Regions from separate parts of the Homo sapiens genome. Here regions 1, 2, 3, 5, 6 and 7 are each linked to region 4. Evidence: promoter capture Hi-C in 16 types of primary human blood cells and fetal thymus (Javierre and others, 2016). All regions are on one chromosome and are shown on one strand. Each heading gives the region's core, a stretch centred on a gene start or on the middle of the fragment in contact. The rest is flanking DNA. Distances are from core to core; before and after follow the strand shown. Region 1 holds the start of GJA8 (gap junction protein alpha 8). Region 2 has its middle 18 kb from the start of GJA8. Region 3 has its middle 11 kb from the start of LINC00624. Region 4 holds the start of ACP6 (acid phosphatase 6, lysophosphatidic). Region 5 overlaps LINC00624 (long intergenic non-protein coding RNA 624). Region 6 overlaps LINC00624 (long intergenic non-protein coding RNA 624). Region 7 has its middle 54 kb from the start of GJA5.

Region 1 (2,700 bases), core at 174-2,673, 230 kb after region 4:
GACCTGAGAAAGTGATTCTTGGTAGGAATAGACAAGTCATCTCTCAATGGTAGCTAAGGTGAGCCTCTTTCCCGATCTCTTTCAAAACTTTCCCCAAGATATACACGACTGAGTGTTTATATTTTCAAGGACTTCCCAGCTACAAACAGAAGAACCAATAACAAAGATAACTTAATCAATTGGGTACTACGAGTAGAGGAGTATCTTCTTTGTTAACAGCGTAAGAAAACAAAGAAAGTGCTAAATTGAAAAGCTAGATTTGTCTAAATCCGAGAGACTATAACTGGTTCAGAGCCTTGTTGACAGCCCCGTTTTTCTGGATTCAAATGCATCCTCTACTACCATCTCTCACAAAATGATGATGAGCGATGACACCACCCACTACATTAGCCAAGTTGGACTGGGAAGCCTTGGATAGGGAGAACTTCATTTTAAAGAGAAGCTTTGTAGATTCTTTTCTCTTCATAGGACTATATCAGGGAGAGCGCAAGCTTCAGGAATCAGCATGTACTGAATATTCCCAAAGAAAGAATGATTGGATTTTTTCCCCTCATCCTCTGACTTCTTACCTTATTGATATTGCAGGGATCAGCCTTGACCATCTATTTTTAACTGAAGGATTTGCTATAGGGCATTGTCCCAGTCAGTGTGGGCCCTCAAACTTGGGAGTTCAAAAGAAATCAGACATCTAAAGTAAACAAGGTTTTGGGCTAGTGACCATTTTATTTAAAATGGAATTGGGGACTCACACAACATTGGTACCATCCTCCTTCAAACTGCCCCCATCAAAATGCAATATGTCCATGACACCAGAAAGGACAGGAAGGGGGGGTGGGGTGGTGAAGCCAGTGCTTAGATTTTTTTTGTCTAGTTTGCCCTCCAAGTTGTCTTCAATTTAGTAATCATACATTGCAGATTTCATAAAACAATCTAAGTTTCAACTATTTTTGCTCCATTGTTTTCACGAATAAACTTGTAGGATAAAATGCCCCTATTTTTGGTTTGGAAATGTAGTCAAAATAACCATTTTTTATACTACCAATAGTCAGTCCCAGATGATGGGACGGGAGTGGGCCTCAGAGAGCATATGTCCATGCCCTCCAAGCATCATTCCTCATTAAGCCACATTAGAATTTAATCCAAGAGCCTCCTGGTGAGCAAAACCATCATATCCCCATTTAACAGATGAAGGCACTAAAGTCTAAAAATGTTAGCTGACATTGATTGAACTTCCGCTACTCAAAAGTATATGTAATTATAAGTGAAACGTGGTGAGAAAGGCTATTACTTTGACAAATGGCACCAGAATTCTTTGGAGTGTTAAGGCTCCTTTCAAAGAGGGAGACCACCCTGCTGAAGGTTTGTTTGTGTTTCTTTTTTATTGTTTTGATCTTTTTAGAAAGCTCTTTCCTTTTATGTTTAGTTGACACATAATAATTGTACGTATTTGTGATACACAGTGATATTTCAATACATGTATACAATGTGTAATGATCAAATCAGGATAATTAGCATATTCAGCATCTCAAACATTTATCATTTCTTTCTGTTGGGAACAATCAAAATCCTCTCCTCTAGCTTTTTGAGACTATACAATAAAATAGTTAACGGCCAGGCATGGTCGCTCATGCTTGTAATCCCAGCATTTGGGGAGGCCAAGGCGGGCAGATCGCCTGAGGTCAGGAGTCTGAGGCCAGCCTGGCCAACATGGTGAAACCCCGTCTCTACTAAAAATAGAAAAAAAAAAATTAGCTGGGCGTGGTTGTGGGTGTCTGTTATCCCAGCTACTCAGGAGGCTGAGGCAGGAGAATAACTTGAACCTGAGAGGCAGAGGTTGCAGTGAGCTAAGATCGTGACATTGCACTCCAGCCTGGGTGGCAGAGCGAGACTCTGTCTCACACACACACAAAAATATAAAAATTAAAATAATTAATTAATTAATGTTAACCATATTCACCCTACAGCACTGCAGACCACCAGAACCCATTCCCCCTATCTAGCTGTGCTTTTGTATCTATTAGCAACATGCTCCCCATCCTTCCTTCCGCCACTACACTTCCCAGCCTCTAATATCCACAATTCTGCTGAAGGCTTTGAGAGACAAGAGCAAACCACCAATAAAAAATGAAATATGGTCCTTTGGAAAGGACCAACCACTCTTGGTGTGACTCAGGGCAGAGGGATTCACACAACTGACCACTTACTGTCCCTACATCATTAAGATTCTCCCAGCTGATGATAAGGCCTTGGGAAAATGCCCCTAGGCTCATGCGCTCTGGAGAGACGCCAAAGGTTTACTGATGTACAGGCCCAGTCTGCTGCTAAAAGAAACTTTGGGAGGCACAGAAGCCCCAGCTAAGCTTTCACACATCAGCTTTCCCCATCCTCCTCCCCTCAGTGCCCAACACAGCTCTCCCATTCTCTCACTCCCATTGTTTCCCAAACATCCCTCCCTTCATAAAAGCTGTCTGGCTGGGAGCTTAAAATATTGCTGGACAGTAAAACCTACCCATCAGGGCCAATCCAGTCATATCTGCTCAGTCGTGCAGCACAGTAGGGGCGGGGTAGAGAAGTGGGAGGTGGGCTTTTAGGCAGCAAAGGAAAGAGACGAAAGTTGCCATTTTGCTGCTGAGCGCCAAGAGAGAAAGAGCACATATTTCTCCGTGGGACACTCCTTGTATTGGCAAGTTTTCCTTGGGT
Region 2 (2,700 bases), core at 184-2,683, 210 kb after region 4:
ACAGAGTAAAACTCCTGCAATGACAATGCACTAGAATATAAGACCCTGATATTGGCTTCCTTCTTCCATTCAGCCACTATTCTCAAATTAGCAGACAGCTTTCTTATTATTTGAGGAAAAAGAGAAAATGTGGAAAGAAGAAGAGGGGCAGGATGGAAAAAATAGGGGAAATGGTGGTAAATTTGTCTTTGGAAGCAGCGAAGTGGAGGGTAAGTCCCAGCATCCCTAATGTTTTTCTGGACCTATCTACTTGAATTGGGCCAAGTGGGTACCACTAACCAGGAGATGTTTGGAATCACTGCTCTTTCCCTGGAAATCCCAACAACAGGACCCAGAAGCATCCCCATCAATATTTAGGCTAGAGCAGACAACTACTATCAGGAGTTGCCAAAACATAGCCAGGTGGTAATGAATTTAGATGGGAGTTCCCTGCTGGCTAGCTGTGCTGGCCAGCCCCAGTTATTTTATTAACCTAATTAATTTGACCCCTCATTCTTTATTTATTATGACTTTTGGATAATATTTAATCAAAGAACAGCAAAATTTTATTAATATGAATTTTAATTAATATGCCCTCAAGGAACTTGCATTTTATTGGAGAAGCCAGCCAGGTTAACCAATAACTACCATGCAATTTAATAAAGTCCATAATAGAGGTATGGACCAAATGGTACCATCCCAACCAAACAAGAGGATCATTAACTGTTTTTCTTTTTTCATGTTTTTCAAGAGACCATAGTGATCATCTTCATTGTAAACACGTTTGAGTGTTGAACAGGTCAAGAATGATGGGTTTTATATCTTTGTGGCAGCAACAAATGAATGTGTTAAAACAAATAATACAAATGAAACAACCACCATCCCCTCCTGCAGTATGATTTTCTTTCATTGATTCTATTCAGTGTTACTGTTATTGTGGTTATTATTTCAGTCATTCTTGAGTTAAAGCTAGAACCACATAAAGTCGATTCTTAAACTAAACTAATTAACTCTTAAGCAGGTATAAACGTGAACTCCATTTGACTATGCCAATAGAAAAATAGACCAGTTAGTTTAAGGACACTATGAAAATCATTAAACTTAAAACTAACATGGTGTGGGGCAGGGGAGAACAATCCCTCTGAGACCAGTGCTTTTTAAATTTCCAAGAATAGAAGAAGTGATAACAAGAAAAATCATACAGTTGGAAGCTTAGCATTTTACAAGGCAGCTAGAGAGGACCCAGAGGAGAAGCCTATCCAAGATTGATCTCTGTAATGGTTAATTTTATATGTCAACTTGATTGTGCTAAGGGATGCCCATTTAACTGATAAAACATTATTTTCAGGTGTGTCTATTAGGATGTTGTAGCAAAAGATTATAATTTAAATCAATATGCTGAGTAAAGAAGATTCATTTCCCCCAGTATGGGTGAGCATCTTCTAATCTATTAAAGGCCCAAATAGAACAAAAAGCAGGAGAAAGGGTAAATTCTCTCTCTCTTCTTGAGCTGGGATACCCATCTTCTCCTGCTCTCAGAAATTGGAGCTCCTAGTTCGCAGGCCTACAGACTTCAGGATTTACTCCAGTGCCTTCCCCACCAACTCCCCATCCCACCAGCTCTCAGCTTTGAACCAGGAGTTACACCATCGATTCCCCTGGTTCTCAGGCCTTCAGACTTGAACTGAATCGCATCACAAGCTTTCCTGGTTCTCCAGCTTGCAGATGGCATATTGTGGGACTTCTTGGCCTCCATAATCACGTGAGCCAAATCCCATAACAAATCTCTTATATGCCTATATATATATCAGATTGGTTCTGTTTCTCTGGAGAACCCTCACTAATACAATCTCATGTGGACAATACAAGTTAAAGGAAGACGGAAGACCAAAATCCCTGGGCATGCATCTTCTCAATGTCCTTACCTTGCTCTCACTGCCCAGTTCTTTCACTGCCTCTTCTTCCAATCTACTTGAACAGTTAACCAAACAGCAGCTAACTGGTCTGGTCAGCTGGTTGTGATCATTCCGACCCTGGGAATGATTGCAGTAGGGTCTCAAAAATACAATGTACAGGCAAAAGTTTACAGCAGGAAGCATGAAAGGAACTGGATTACGTATAAACCATGAAACATATCTGCCAGGTCCTCTTCCTTAAAAAGGATGGATCTAATTATACAGGGGATCACAAAGGGGGCAGAATTTGTAGGAATGACCCCCCCAGAGTTTCACATTACCAAGACTAAGGGAAAAGTTTTAGGGAGAACTTTGGTGTCTCTAAACAGAAATAACTCCAGCTTGGCAATGAGATATGCGTCTCTTTTCTCTACGATCTTCTGGGTCTTGGTCCCTTTCATGCACTTTCATATTTGCCAGTTATGTGTCTCAGTTTATTTTATCCAAGCCCTCCATCAACTGATTATATTTCATCTCTAATTTTAACAGGCATGTGAAAGTACAGGATCTTCCACCCCCATCTCAGAGCAGACATCTTATTTCCTAGACTTTCATTTCAAGGCCAACCCAATAAAAGACATTGAACTTAAAATGTTATAAAATATGCTTCCACTAATCCCCAATTTAAAGCTCAGTTGTAGACTCTTTCCTCCCCCCAACCCCATTTCTTTAGTAAGAGAAAGTAAGTAATGTTACCAAACTCTTGAAGTCCAGCTGCTGTCTCTAACTCTAACCAAAAGACACGTACCATGTAATGGAAAAAATG
Region 3 (2,700 bases), core at 31-2,530, 140 kb before region 4:
GGAAGGGATTTCCCACAGAGAGCTGCTTCCAATCATAACACATTGAGCCTTCTGCAAGGTCCCTGTGTAACTTAACTGTAGAGGCACAGTAGAAAGCCCACTCCAAAAACCATCCTCTGTTCCTGCCTAATGAATCCCTGGTATACGCTGTCAGAATTTAAGAGGCAGGTGTCGCTCCCCTGACGCTTTGAATAGGAACTTGTTCAAATCGTGTATCCTCTCTAGGAACAGTTTTTCAAGAGTGGTTTATAATTTTTCATCTGCAGCAGTAGTGAGGGGGTGGATTCAGAGGAAGAAGGAGGAAGTACTGACGGGGGAGGCAGGAAAAGAAATGCCATCCTGGATCAGAGCTGTGAACGTCAAAGGAGAGGGGTGATCCTCACCTCTGGAGATGAGAGACTGGAAGAGAATGCCTGTGAAGGTAAAGGAAAGAAAGAACTTAGATGTGGTAGGTGGAGCCTTCTCTATGGAGAGACACAGAAGAGGTTTCTATTTCCCCAGATGATAGCTAGTAGTCAAGGCTTCCTGCCCTCACCATCATCCTCTGCAGGCATCTCCACGTCAACCAGGCCAGGCCGCTCCTCTTTCTGCCCCACTCAGCACCCTCCCTCCACCTTTTCTCTAGCTTATGCAACCCAATATCTATACATTTGTTCATCTGGTTTACTCTTTCTTGATCACTCTCTACCCTTTGCTCTACTCCACTGATCAGAATCAAATTTAAGTGCCAAATGCCCTATAAGTCTGACCTGAAACTCCAGCCTACAGTGGTTCTTATTGCCTGTACCAGCAGTTCTCAAACCCTAGCATGCATCAGAATCACTCAGGGGGCATTTGAAAACACAGGTTTCCAGGACTCTCAGAGTTTCTGATTCAGTAGGTCTGGGCCACGGCCTGAGAATTTACCTTGCTAACAAGTTCCCAAATGACTCTTGCTGATGCTTCTTGTTTGGGAACCACTAACCTGTACCATTCGTTTAGCCTTAATCATGCACTGCCCTGTGCTGATACTGTAACTGAGTATCCAGATGCAGCTGTGAACATATCAAAGGCAGTTATGTTGTAGGTACTGGGCTGTATCTCCCACAGGACTTAGCTAGCATACTCAGAGCAGGTACCCAAACCCAATATAATTTATTAATTGTTGTGAAAACTTAGTATTGGTTTTAGGTAAAATTAGGAAGACAGTAGATTGTCCACAGGAAGCTTCCACTTTCCCTCCTTCATTTCTCAACCAACTTCTGTGTCACTCACTCTTCCTCCTCCAAGCGACCCAGGCTCCCCTAAACATAGGCTTGTCCTAAATACCCAGAGCTCTCCCATTTGCCCCTCAAAGTTTACAGGCAAATCTCAGAGAAGCTTGACTGAGGCCGGACGTGGTGGCTTATGCCTGTAACCCCAGCACTTTGGGAGGCCGAGGCGGGTAGATCATAAGGTCAGGAGTCCAAGAGCAGCCTGGCCAACATGGTGAAACCTCATCTCTACTAAAAATACAAAAAAATTAGCTGGGCATGGTGGCGGGCACCTGTAGTCGCAGCTACTTGGGAGGTTGAGGCAGGAGAACCACTTGAATCAGGAGGGGGAGGTTGCAGTGAGCCGACATTGCACCACTGCACTCCAGCCTGGGCGACAGACCAAGAATCTGTCTCAAAAAAAAAGAAAAAAAGAAGCTTGACTGAGAAGTTAAGAGACAGCTGAGTGTATGAGCTTATTTAAATACTGATGGAGAGAGGCGCGCAGTGGTGCCAGTGTGGGAAAGAGAGGGAATAATGGCAGGTGGGATCCACAGTGCAAGGAGAAGGATTCGCTTAGACAGGAGCAGGGACACCTCTCCCACTGTAGATGGAAAAAGGAAAAGATAGGTTTAGATGCAAGAATAATGAGGCTTTAGATGCTAGGTGACTCCCAGCTCTAACATCTTGTGATTCCATGAAATTAAATTGCCACGGTGTCAGTGGCTTAATATGTCACCTCTCCCTGGCAGAGCTTTAACCCAAGGAAATGAATGTTTCATGAGAGGCTCTTAGGCTATGGGAGGCCTGCCAGTGGGACAGCAGGGCCTTCCCAGTGGTCTTGAATACCTGTTGCCCTGCTAGGCAAGGTGGGATTGGGAAAATGGGATAAATATATCCAACTGTGACAACGTAAGAACTACAGCAAGGCCACAGAGCTAATACATTCTGGAACCAGATTTAGAACTCTGTGTCACTCAAGCCCGCAGTCATCTGGTCCACCCAGTCATATTCTGACCACCTGAAATTGCAAGGGAGGGCTGGAAGTATTAGGAACAACTTCTTCCTAACCCTTGGGCTAGAGACTTGAGATGACATGCTCCATCCCAGATCCACACAGCCCCAGCCTATCTCTGGGGCTCTAAGAAACACCTGATAGTGACAGGAATAATAACAACAATAATAATTTATCTAATGCCTCCTCAATTAAACTAGCATGTAAGGTGCCTGGTACATTGTGCCAAAATCTGGATCATAGGAAGAAGTCAACAAATGTAAGCTGTCATCCTCCTCCTCCTCCTCTTTCTCATTATCACCACCTTCACTGTGTGCCAGTAACCATATTAGGTATTTTTAAGTATATTTTTTCCTGATTACAAAAGTAACCAGTGTTTAAAAATTCTAACAAGAAATGCATAATATAAAAAGTCCAAGTGTGGTGCACTAGAAAGAGAGGAAGCACATAAAA
Region 4 (2,700 bases), core at 89-2,588:
AATTTGTTCCGACCTCAGATCCCTCCCACTATAGGTTTAGTAACCTTAAATAGAAAAGGAGAACCCTAGAATACAACACTTGTTACAAAAAAAAACTTCAGGAGATCTCAAATGGCCTCCAGCAAACCCTGAGAAAAAGCAGTTATAAAGTTTGTTTCCAAAGGCAACGACCTCTTATCCACTGTAATCTCAGTTAAGAGTGGTTCCTATCACTAAAGTCCCTTCAGCCCTTCAGCTCTGACAAACCACCTTCAAAATGGTCACACAGAAGTGCACTGCACCCTTGTATTCAAGTTCACCTAGACCCTTAATAGAAATGCTGACCTGGGGCACTACTCCACACCTGCTGAATCAGAATCTGCAACGTAGCAGGATCCCCAGGCGACTCCCATGCGTCTTAAGCAGCGCTTACTGATGGCTGCGCCATCAGGGCAAAACTGGAAGTTCCGGGGCTGTCCTAACCCCAGCAGGTCCTTTGCTCAAGAGCCTGGGGAGTCACTGGCTACTGCTGTTTTCCCTTCTTCTGGACCCAACCCGAGCCCCGCTCCGCGCGAGTAAAGCTCTGAAGATGTGTGTCAGGGCGAGACTCCTGGCCTGGCACACGGTCCTCGCCCCACCAGCCCCAGCCCGGGCCGACCTCTCACCTGCTCCTCCAGCGGGAGCGGCTTGAGAGGACTCCGAGCCCCGTGTCGAAACACGACCTGCACCATTTTCAACTTCAGCAGGCTGCGGTCGACCGGACACTGGCCATCGGCCTCCTGCAGCTCGGCCAGGGCCACCCGCCGCTGGTGCAGGCAGTACGCCAGCGAGGTCAGGACGCCCACTGGGGTCCACAAGCGCATGCTGAACACACCAGTGATCATGGTGGTAGGCCCTCGCTGCCCTCCGGGTTGAGGCTGCAGGAGGCAAACACAAGTCTTCTGCGGGCGCCGGGGCTCAGCGGGCGCCCCCAAGTCCGCGGGAACCTGCGGATGCGTACATCCAGCCCTTCAGCAAGCAGGGACCGCTGTGCCTCCCGGCCCTGAGGGAGACCCCGAGTGGGAACGGGGGAGAGAACAAGAGGTGGCAGCAGCGAAGAGTCCCTGGGAGTTTTAACCCGGGTCGGGGTTGGTCGCTCCTGCTGCACACCGGGCCGGGGGAGATCGGATCCTTATCTTTTGCCCGACGAGGAACATTAAACTTGTATTTCAAGTTTGGCCTCCAGCACTCTTGAAGGAACAGGAGCCGGCCCTGAGTTCCCTGGCGGCAGCGGCTCCACCAGCAAGGACTACTCGATTCCACTTTTCTATAAGCAAGCTCCTACCCACCTCCTCACCTACTCAGGGACCCGTCCCAAGTGGACCCGCGCACAGGAGCACGGGAAAACGAGTCCTGTGGTGACACCTCGCCTGGAGACTCAGAGCTGCGGAAACTACAACTCCCACAAGGCTGCGCGTACCGCGGCTCCCAAGAAGTGGCTTGTACCCGCCCCCCTCGCCTGCGGGCCTCGCCCCTCCGGCCCAGCCAGCCGTTTTCCAGGCGTGGATGGCCCACGGACGTGCCTGGTCCGGCAGTGGAGTGGTAGTGAATCTGTCGGGCCATGGAGTTTGCCAGGCAGGAGGATCGCGAGCGCAGGAGTAGAACTGGGTGGTGGAGGGGAGTAGTTTGAGTCTAGTTTTGAATGTAGAAGACTTCCTTCCAGTCCTGGAAGCCTGGTTGCTGCAGCGAGGAGCTGAGACACCTGCCGAGTGATTGCCATTTGCGAAACACAGCACTAGGTGCTTTATATTTAGTCATTTACTACTCCCTTCTCTGTTTTTAAAAAAATTCTCAAGCTTAAGTCATTGTAATCATGTAGAACTTTCAGGTCACTGATGTGTTTACTTCCATCCAGAATACTTCTTGTGGAAAAAGCCAGGCCTTGCCTGTGGGTGTCCCAGTGATTAAGAACCTAAGAGGCGCCATGGCTCACGCCTGTAATCCCAGCACTTTGGGAGGCCGAGGCGGGTAGATCATGAGGTCAGGAGATCGAGACCATCCTGGCTAACACGGTGAAACCACGTCTCTACTAAAAATACAAAAAAAAAAAAAAAAAAAAATTAGCCAGGCGTGGTGGCGGGCACCTGTAGTCCCAGCTACTCAGGAGGCTGAGGCAGGAGAATGGCGTGAACCCGGGAGGCGGAGCTTGCAGTGAGCCGAGATCGCGCCACACGACTCCAGCTTGGGCAACAGCGCAAGACTCCGTCTACAAAAAAAAAACAAAAAAAAACCTAAGAACACAGAACAATGCCAGCCTTACCACCTGCTAGTCTGGTTTCTGTTGATATACAGGTATCCCAAGCCTGTGTTTCCAGATCTTTGCAACAGGACACAATCTGGGACCCACTATGTGTCTATCTCCAAAGATCAAACTGGGCCAGATGTAAAGACAACATACTTACAGAGCATGGCTCCTGGCCTGAGAACAAATTCTGTTCACCAAGCTGGAAGGTTCTGAGTGCTCCCCTCCCTGATGCAGGGAGGAGGGTCATTTTGGAACACTACATATTGTCACAATTTTCTCCCTAGCCCAGCCAAGGGACTCACTTTTCAGAGTCTTATTGTGTGTGCTGATGTGATTAAAAATCGAATACTGTTTGCTATGGACTCAGTTGTGTCCCCCGCCAAATTCGTACCCACTAAGTGACTGCATTTGGACATAGGACTTTTAGAAGGTGATTC
Region 5 (2,700 bases), core at 99-2,598, 200 kb before region 4:
ATGTGCCATGTGGCAATGAGAAGAATGTATATTCTCTTGTTTTGGGGTGGAGAGTTGTATAGAGGTCAGATCCATCTGGTCCAATGTTGAGTTCAGGTCTTGAATGTGTTTGTTAATTTTCTGCCTATTACAGTCAATACACTCAATGATCTGTCTAATACTGTCAGTGGAGTGTTGAAGTCTCCCACTGATACTGTGTTGAAGTCTATGTCTCTTCGTAGGTCTCTAAGAACTTCCTTTATGAATCCAGGTGCTCCTGTGTTGGGTGCATATGTATTTAGAATAGTTAGATCTTCTCGTTGAATTGAACCCTTTACCATTATGTAATGTCCTTGTCTTTTTTTCATCTTTGTTGATTTGAAGTCTGTTTTGCCTGAAATTAGGATTACAACCTTTAATCAAATTACAACCTTAGTAATCAAATTACAACCTTACTAAGCAAATGATTTCCTCCATCCTTCAATTTTGAGCCTATGGGTGTCATTTCGTGTGAAATGTGTCTCTTGAAGACAGCATACCATTGGGTTTTGCTTTTTTATCCAGGTTGCCACTCTGTGCCTTTTAAGTGGGGGCGGTTAGCTCATTTACATTGAAGGTTATTACTGACAGATGTGAATCTGATCCTGTCATTGTGTTGTTAGCTGGTTATTGTGTTGACTTGTTTGTGTGGTTGCTTTACAGTGACGTTGGTCTATGTGTTTAAGACTGTTTTTGTATTAGTTGGTAGCAATCTTTCCTTCCTATGTTAAATGCTCCTTTCAAAATCTCTTGTAATGCAGGTCTGGTGGTAATGAACTTTTTCAACATATGCTTATCTGAAAAGGATATTTCTCCTTTGCTTAGGAAGCTTAGTTTGGCTAGACATGAAATTTTTGGTTGAAGATTTTTTTCTTTAAAAATGTTGAATATAGGCTCCCCAATCTTGTCTGGCTTACAGGGCTTTAGCTGAAAGATCTACTGTTAGCCTGATAGTGTTCTCTTTGTTGGTAACTTGCCCTTTCTCTCTAGCTGCCTTTAACATTCTTTCTGGCATTTTAATCTTGGAAAATCTGACAATTATGTGTCTTCGAGATAATCTTGTATAGAGTCTTGCAGAAATTCTCTGTATTTCCTGAATCTGACTATTGGCCTCTCTAGCAAGGTTGGGGAAGTTTTCGTGAATGATATCCTGAAATGTTTTCCAAGTTATTTGCTTTCTCCCTCTCCTTTTCAGGGATGCCAATGATTTGTGTAGATCTGGCCTCTTTACGTAATCCCATACTTCTTAGAGGGTTTGTTCTTTCATTTTTATTCCTTTTTCTTTATTTTTGTCTGTCTTACTTCAGAGAACTAGTCTTCAAATTCTGAGATTCTTTCTTCAGTTTGGTTTATTCTGCTGTTAATACTTGTGACTGCATTGTGAAATTATTGCATTGTGTTGATCAGCTCTGTCAGACCTGTTAGGTTCTTTTTTATACCACCTACTTCGTCCTTCAGCTCCTATATTGCTTTATTGTGATTCTTATTTTCCTTGGATTGGGTTTCGCTGTTCTCCTGAATCTCAATGATCTTCATTCCTATCCATATTCTAAATTTTATTTGTTATCCCAGCCAGTTCTTATTGGAGAACTGGTACAGTCATTTTGAGGCCATACAAAACTCTGGTCATTTGAGTTACCAGAGTTCTTGCATTCGTTCTTTCTCATTTCTGCATATGGGTGTTCCTTTAACTGTAGTATAGATTGATTACAGTCAATAGACTTCTGGATGTTTTCACCTGGCTGAGGCCTTGTGCAGGGTCTCTATCTGAAGCTGATTTCTTGTCTCTGGTTTCACAGGGGGGTATGTTAGTGAGGCATTTTTTTAAGTTGAAGCTTTGTGGTGTGATCCAGTAGGTGGCATTTAGGCTTACGGGTCAGTTGGTAGACTCACTCAGTTGTGTAGCTCCCCTATGGTTCCCCACAGTGGCAGCTATATTTCCTCTCAATCCTCTGGGAACGTGGCTTCCTCTCCCCCTTAAGTGCTGACTGTAGATCACGGCTTGTCACTCCTGGACTGCCCACTGTAGCTCTGGGATGATCTCAGCATTTATGATTCTTCCCCATCTCAGAGGCAGCAGAGGAAGGGACCTTAGTAGTGGTTTTGACCAAGGGTCTTTTGCTTGTCTCCTGAGGGCTCCACCCGAAAGATGGAAGATGGACTGACCTCCTCTTCTTAAACTGACTGCAGCCTGTTGGAGGTATGGATAAAGCACTTAAAGCCTTTGTTCCTTCATTAGTCTGAGGGCAGCAAGGGCAGTTCTACTGCAGAGGCAGTGGCAGGGAAGCTTTCAGTTGCCCCTGGAGGCTCTGTCCAGGGAGTTGCTGAGTTGCTACTGGCTCAATAGCTCTGGCAGTGGGTGGCTGGAAGCCCTGGAGAACCTGCCCAGTGAGGAGATGTGGGAATAGGCACCCATTTGTTCTGGCCAGTTTTCCATAGGGCTGCTGTGGTATGCTGGGGTCCCTCTGCAGTTCCTAGTTGCCTTGAATTTTCCAGTAAGTGGAGATATCATCAGTAAAGGCTGCAATACAGCAAAGACAGTAGCCTGCCCCTCCCTCTGGAAGCTCCATCCCAGGAAGGTATGGGCCTGTTGCCAGCCCAAAAGTGCCTGTAGGAGGTGGCTGGAGACCCTGGTTAGGAGGTCCCACCTACTGAGGAGGAAGAGGATCAGGAACCTACTTT
Region 6 (2,700 bases), core at 131-2,630, 160 kb before region 4:
TCCTTCCTCTCCTCAGTTAACTAAGCAGAAATCATGGAGTTAGGTTTATTTGTTAAATTATCTTCCTTGGGTCCTATAGGTGGAAAGAAAACAAAATTTGGAGTCTGACAATCTGAGTTCGGGTCACTATGTGACAACAGAGTTCACTGGCTGTGTGTCCTCAGCCTAACTACCGAACTCGTCTGAAAATCCATTTCTCCCAAAATTACTATCTCCAGGTCTTCTCATCTCAGACCATGCTCCTGAAACATACCTTGCAAAGGTCATCAATGTCCTACCTACAGCCAAATCCAATAGACTGTTTTCAGCCTTTTTATTTTGACCTCAGTACATTTGTCTTTATTTATGTATTTATTTTTTGCAGAGACAAGGTCTCACTTTGTTGCCCAGGCTGGCCTTGAACTCCTGGGCTCAAGAGATCCTGCCATCTCAAGTCTCCCAAAGTGCTGGGATTACAGGCGTGACCCACTTCACCTGGCCCATTTGTCCTTATTGACCAGTTTTTTCTTGTCTCAACACTCTTCCCTCATGCCATCAACTTCATCTCATGTTCTTCTGAGTACTCTACTTGTTTTTTTTCATTGTTATCATTCTTCTTACTAAAACATGAGCTAACCTTAATTGATGCTTACTATGTGCCAGAATTGCGATAAACTTTCTAGGTACTGCTCCGTAAGGTAGGTGCTATTACTGTCCTTGTTAGAGATGAAAAGACCATGGCTCAGAGAGGTGACCTAACTTGCCCAGAGACATATGGCCAGAATATACTCTCTCAACAGAACAACATGCTTCTTCAACTCCTTTATGGGTTCTCCTTCTCTTCTTTTTACTTTTGAAGTTCCTTGGAGCTCTATCCTGGGCCTGTTTCTCCTCTGTCTACTCTCCCTGGCAATCTCAGCTACTTCTTTGTCTTTAATAACCAACCATGTAGCAATAGTTCCATATTGCCATCTTCAGCCCATGCTCCTCTCCTGAGATCCAGATCTTTGTCTTCAACTACTTACTGGACAGTGTGATACATGATGTTTCCGACATGACATGTCTTAAACTGCATTAGTCAACTCTCCCTCAAAACCTGCTTTTCCTCTCAGGCTTCCTACCTCAGTAAAGTCATCCACCCACTGCCATCCACCAACTGCCATCCGCCAACTGCCCAAGTGAGAAAGCTCAATGTCGTCTTCTTTACCTCTCATTCATCCTTCTTAACATGGCTTCCAAGACCCTTCAAGACTTGGTTCCTTCCTCTTTCCAGTTTCATTTCTTCCGATTCATCCCCTGACATTCTTCATCCAGCTGTGATCACCAAAGTGTGGGTCCTAGAGTAAGGCAAATTCACTTGCTTGCTTTCTCTGATTTTCTCTGACCTTCTCGTGTCTGGGTCTGCAATAAATTGTACCTCTAGCTGTAACATGCTTCCATCTCTTACCCCTCACCTAAGCTCATCTTTATTTACTAGGTCTCATCTTAAATGTCACTTCTTTTGAAAATACTTGCCTAGACCACCTCAGATCTTCCTGCTGGCTGTGCCCAGCTACCCTTACCGAAGCATAATCCTGTCAATGGCAATTACTTTTCAACTGTTGATATAGTCTTGTCTATTGTAGTATCTCCAGTATCCAGCACAGTGCCTTGTGCATAAAAGGCTCTCAAAATATGTTGAGCAAATGAATGAATTATAAAATAGAGTTAGCTAAAACTACTTCTCAGTAACATTAGGTAACTGTGGAAATTATGAGATAATATGTGTGATTATACTTTGTAAACTGTAAAATTCTAGAACAAACTCCATAGTGATAAAAAGAATTATGCATGGTTGATCTCCCACACTTTTCCAGATTCTTCATCCCCTTTCTGGACCCACTATCTCCTCAATAGCCAAGAGATCTTGATGTATCAAAGTCCCATAAGGGGACTCCAGCTGAGATTCCCCCCAGGTTCTCTCACTTTGAGGCTTCTTTCTGACCCAGGAGCTACTTAGGTAAGTTGTCTTCCATATCATCTCTGTCAGTTCCATGCTGAACTTGGCTCAATCAGCAGCTACTGACAAAACCACTCTTCCATACCTATACCTCTGCTCTGGCCCAATCCAATTTGGTTCTTTAAGCTGATTCTCCCCACTCACTTTACCCTCTAATCTGCCAGGACACTTAGTGACTGAGGATTAGACTTTTCACTGAGGATTAGTGTCTTGCCCTACCACCCCAATGGTCCCTCTTGCTTTCACTTGCTACAGAAACTTTACGAGAGAAGGACATCCTAACCTAAGGTTCTCCTGGCCATAGAGAAGCTAATTTGGAGAAGATTACGATGTTGATACATTTTTAAAGCAAACCCTCAATGAGTTGATTACTGAGTGAGGGAAGCTGATGTGGGTATGAGAAAAGGGAGACAAGGAGAAACAAGGAGTATCTGTGAGGGTATGAGAGTTGTTGGGGGAGGAGGAGCATGAATTCGATCCTCCCTGGTGATGCACTGTTTCCTCAGTGATAGCCCGTCTCTCCAACAGCAGGGTAACTTCTCTGGCTGGCTCCCAGAGAATGGGTGTCCCATTCTCAACCAGCATCACCTAAGACACACTTGGATACAGGGTTGCTTATCCAGAACCATCCCTGAGTTTAGAGGCCCAAATCGGGGATAATCTCAGTGATTTTTTTTTTTAATCATCACCAGGGATATTTGGGAAAGTCAATCACTGTATCA
Region 7 (2,700 bases), core at 129-2,628, 140 kb after region 4:
TTATGAAGGGTCAAGGAAATGGATGTGATATTATAAATAAAATAAAAATCTAACATAACCCAAATGTCAGTTTCAGGCACCCTGCCACTTGAGATTCAGATAAGATTGGCTCGAATCTCCATTCCACATCCTGTGGAAAGTTTAATGCCCTCCCCAAGATGTCTGCATTCTCTCAGAGCAGTTACTTTTTTGTGGCCTCCTCTGGTTCTGGAATTAGTTCTGTTGTTAGTGATCTCACCTTCCAGTGCGTGTAGCCCTCTTACCCAGTCCCTTGAGTGACAGTCCCTTGAAACCCAGTCCCTTTCCTTGATTTACTTATACACACATACATAGACACACACACACTACAATTTTACAAGGCCTTTGCTGACATTTTGAGAAAAATGAAGAAGGGAGGATTTACCCAGAAGCAATGGAAACAAATCAAAATTTAATATTAAAAAGTCTGTGTTCTTAACAGATTATTTCTTCCCTAACAGGAATTCTGATGCCAGCTACTAAGATAATAGTTGAGTTTTTATTTTTAATTATTATTCTGCTTCACCAAGAAATGTTACAGAAGAAGAGTGGCAGCTATAAATGACAGAGTAGGAGGTGGAGGACTAAGTGCAGAGGAGGAATGAAAGAAAGGAAACAAAAAAGAGGGTGTGGAGATGATTTTGAGGTTTAAAACATTGTCAAAGGAATGAAGAAAAACAGAAGTTAAGGAAATTCAACCAAGTCACATTGCACTGACTTGTATTTACTAAACTGATGTTTTGAAATTCAGGTCTGAGGCTGGTAGGAGGAAGGAGTTTGGAGAAAGGAGCCATGTAGAATGACACATGGAGGTTAGACCTCCAGCCAGAGAGGAACATGAAGCATCTGAATTCTAGCCTGAATATGCTCCTAACTTGCAGTATAATCTTATTTAACTCACTTCCTTTTCTGGAACACTCAGTTTCTTATCCGTACAGCAAGAAAGTCAGATTAGTGACCCTTTGCCATAAATTCCATCATCATCTGTTTATTTTTATTGTCTTTCTAAACTTATTATTAATAGCTGAAGGAGCCACAGGAAAGAGTTCAATAATTGTGAGTGGAGGGCAAGAGGGATATCAAAACTTCTGAAAATGAGTGGGATTGGAGATGTTAGACTAGTTGACTAGGACATTAGCTAAAATGTTGTACAGTTATTCTAATAGAGTTGTATTTTAATAGAGAAAGAAGATCTTTAGCAGAAACACATACTAACTGTTCTGAGACTCAGCTCTCCAAGAAGGCCTGGTAGGTGGGCCCACACCAACATGAACATTCCTCTCTGTTATTCTGGTGTCTCCTATCCCAACTTTGGACATAGTATCTAGAAAAGAAAAATACGCCCACTAAATTCTGTCTTGATAAACCTACCTTCCAAAGAAGAAGTGTTTCTCAAAGTGTGCGCAGTTGGTCCTAAAGATGCTCTGAAAATAAATGAAAAACAAAGGGGAACCCTTGTGGGAAACCAGCATATGCACCCCCCAACATGTGACTGTAGGAGACCAGAATATGTTACCCCAAAATATGACTATGGGGAACATAATATGCACCCCAAAGTATGACTATGGCAGAAAAGAATATCTACCCCCAAATATGCCTTTTTGGCATAAGGATTATTTTGAGCTGATTATTTTGAGAAACTTCAGACACAGGAGAAATTCTGAAAACAGAGTAGAAGTTACCCTTTTGTAAGGGAAATTTATACCCATAAGCCTCCATTTGTAAGGGCATCTTTCTCTCAGTATAAGGAAGAGAAGGCTGACTAAATAACAAGAGACTTATCAATGGAGAAGACACTGACTTTAATCTGCATAACCAATCTTACCCTTGTTTCCCATGCTTCTCCTGGGCATCTCCTCATAACCAGCCTTTCCCACACCTTTCTTTCTTTGTCTTAACAGATAATGGTATTTAAGTCTGTTCTGAGATTAACTCATTTCTCTGGGTATCTCCCAGAGATATACATGAGGTATACATGTTACTAAACTTCTGTTTCTTTTTCTTTTATTATTCTGTCTTTTTTTTTTTTTACAGGAGTCTTTCTTATCTAAAAACTATGAAGGATAGAGAGAAAAACATTTCCCCCCCACAACATGTACTTGCTTTGAGTCTTGCTGAACTTCCCACACATTCTGTGCTCATGGGACATTGTAGATGTTATATGTAAATAGGGTAACAGAAGGGCAGAGACACATATTCTCTCTGTTCGTGGACCTGCTCCGTTTTCCCATCAGATTCCACTTATCAAACAAAAGTTCAAAGATAAGATTAGGAATAATTTCAAGATGGTGAGAGCAGTGTACTAAGCCAAGTAAAGGGGTCTTCTGAGCACAGGGTCCTATGTGACTGCACATGTCTCTGCCCATGGAGCCAGCCCTGGAAAAGGGTTCATCAATCACATAAATGTCTCTCCCTCTGCTGGCCATTATTGTGCTGTATTTGGGAGATATGGCAGCCATCTTCCGACCACGAGGGGAACTAGCCTGAGGACACATCTGACATAAGGGAAGAAAGAAAGAATGGTGTCTCAGTTCATTTTGTGCTGCTGTAACAGAATATCAATTTGTGGGTAATTTATAAGGAACAGAAACTTCTTTCTCACAATTCTGAGGCTGAGAAGTCCAAGAGCAAGAGGGTAGCATCAGGCATGGACCTTCTTGCAGAGTTATCCCATGGCAGAAG

What was found. The method cuts DNA at HindIII sites, captures the fragments that hold promoters and counts their contacts. A CHiCAGO score of 5 or more calls a contact.
Region 1: a contact is called between a fragment that was not itself captured here and the fragment with the promoter of ACP6 in region 4, in 12 of 17 cell types (M0 macrophages, total CD4 T cells, endothelial precursors and 9 more). The highest score is 10.9, in M0 macrophages.
Region 2: a fragment that was not itself captured here is called in contact with the fragment with the promoter of ACP6 in region 4 in 12 of 17 cell types (M0 macrophages, endothelial precursors, M2 macrophages and 9 more); the score reaches 13.9 in M0 macrophages.
Region 3: a contact is called between a fragment that was not itself captured here and the fragment with the promoter of ACP6 in region 4, in 8 of 17 cell types (total CD4 T cells, naive CD4 T cells, non-activated CD4 T cells and 5 more). The highest score is 14.3, in total CD4 T cells.
Region 5: a contact is called between a fragment that was not itself captured here and the fragment with the promoter of ACP6 in region 4, in 4 of 17 cell types (naive CD8 T cells, activated CD4 T cells, naive B cells and 1 more). The highest score is 7.1, in naive CD8 T cells.
Region 6: a fragment that was not itself captured here is called in contact with the fragment with the promoter of ACP6 in region 4 in 11 of 17 cell types (naive CD8 T cells, fetal thymus, non-activated CD4 T cells and 8 more); the score reaches 13.4 in naive CD8 T cells.
Region 7: a contact is called between a fragment that was not itself captured here and the fragment with the promoter of ACP6 in region 4, in 1 of 17 cell types (total CD4 T cells). The highest score is 5.6, in total CD4 T cells.

Annotation. Positions count from the first base shown.
Region 1 is chr1:147,900,179-147,902,878 of GRCh38, forward strand. GJA8 (gap junction protein alpha 8) reads left to right here and starts at 2,617. Exons shown (of 2, transcript NM_005267.5): 1 at 2,617-2,683. The HindIII fragment of the contact is 1,869 bases long and covers 490-2,358 here.
Region 2 is chr1:147,883,446-147,886,145 of GRCh38, forward strand. No RefSeq gene overlaps it. Among named protein-coding and RNA genes, the nearest start is that of GJA8, 18 kb to the right of the region's middle. The HindIII fragment of the contact is 490 bases long and covers 1,189-1,678 here.
Region 3 is chr1:147,527,853-147,530,552 of GRCh38, forward strand. No RefSeq gene overlaps it. Among named protein-coding and RNA genes, the nearest start is that of LINC00624, 11 kb to the left of the region's middle. The HindIII fragment of the contact is 153 bases long and covers 1,205-1,357 here.
Region 4 is chr1:147,669,186-147,671,885 of GRCh38, forward strand. It overlaps ACP6 (acid phosphatase 6, lysophosphatidic), which reads right to left and starts at 1,339. Exons shown (of 10, transcript NM_016361.5): 1 at 645-1,339. The coding sequence starts at 863. RefSeq lists enhancers at 187-1,130, 342-401, 1,042-1,291, 1,732-1,801. The HindIII fragment of the contact is 4,251 bases long and covers 1-1,812 here.
Region 5 is chr1:147,466,208-147,468,907 of GRCh38, forward strand. The region is part of intron 3 of LINC00624 (long intergenic non-protein coding RNA 624); the gene reads right to left. Among named protein-coding and RNA genes, the nearest start is that of LINC00624, 50 kb to the right of the region's middle. The HindIII fragment of the contact is 1,006 bases long and covers 846-1,851 here.
Region 6 is chr1:147,506,436-147,509,135 of GRCh38, forward strand. All of the region lies in intron 3 of LINC00624 (long intergenic non-protein coding RNA 624), which reads right to left. Among named protein-coding and RNA genes, the nearest start is that of LINC00624, 10 kb to the right of the region's middle. The HindIII fragment of the contact is 5,017 bases long and covers 1-2,700 here.
Region 7 is chr1:147,813,199-147,815,898 of GRCh38, forward strand. No RefSeq gene overlaps it. Among named protein-coding and RNA genes, the nearest start is that of GJA5, 54 kb to the left of the region's middle. The HindIII fragment of the contact is 4,107 bases long and covers 1-2,700 here.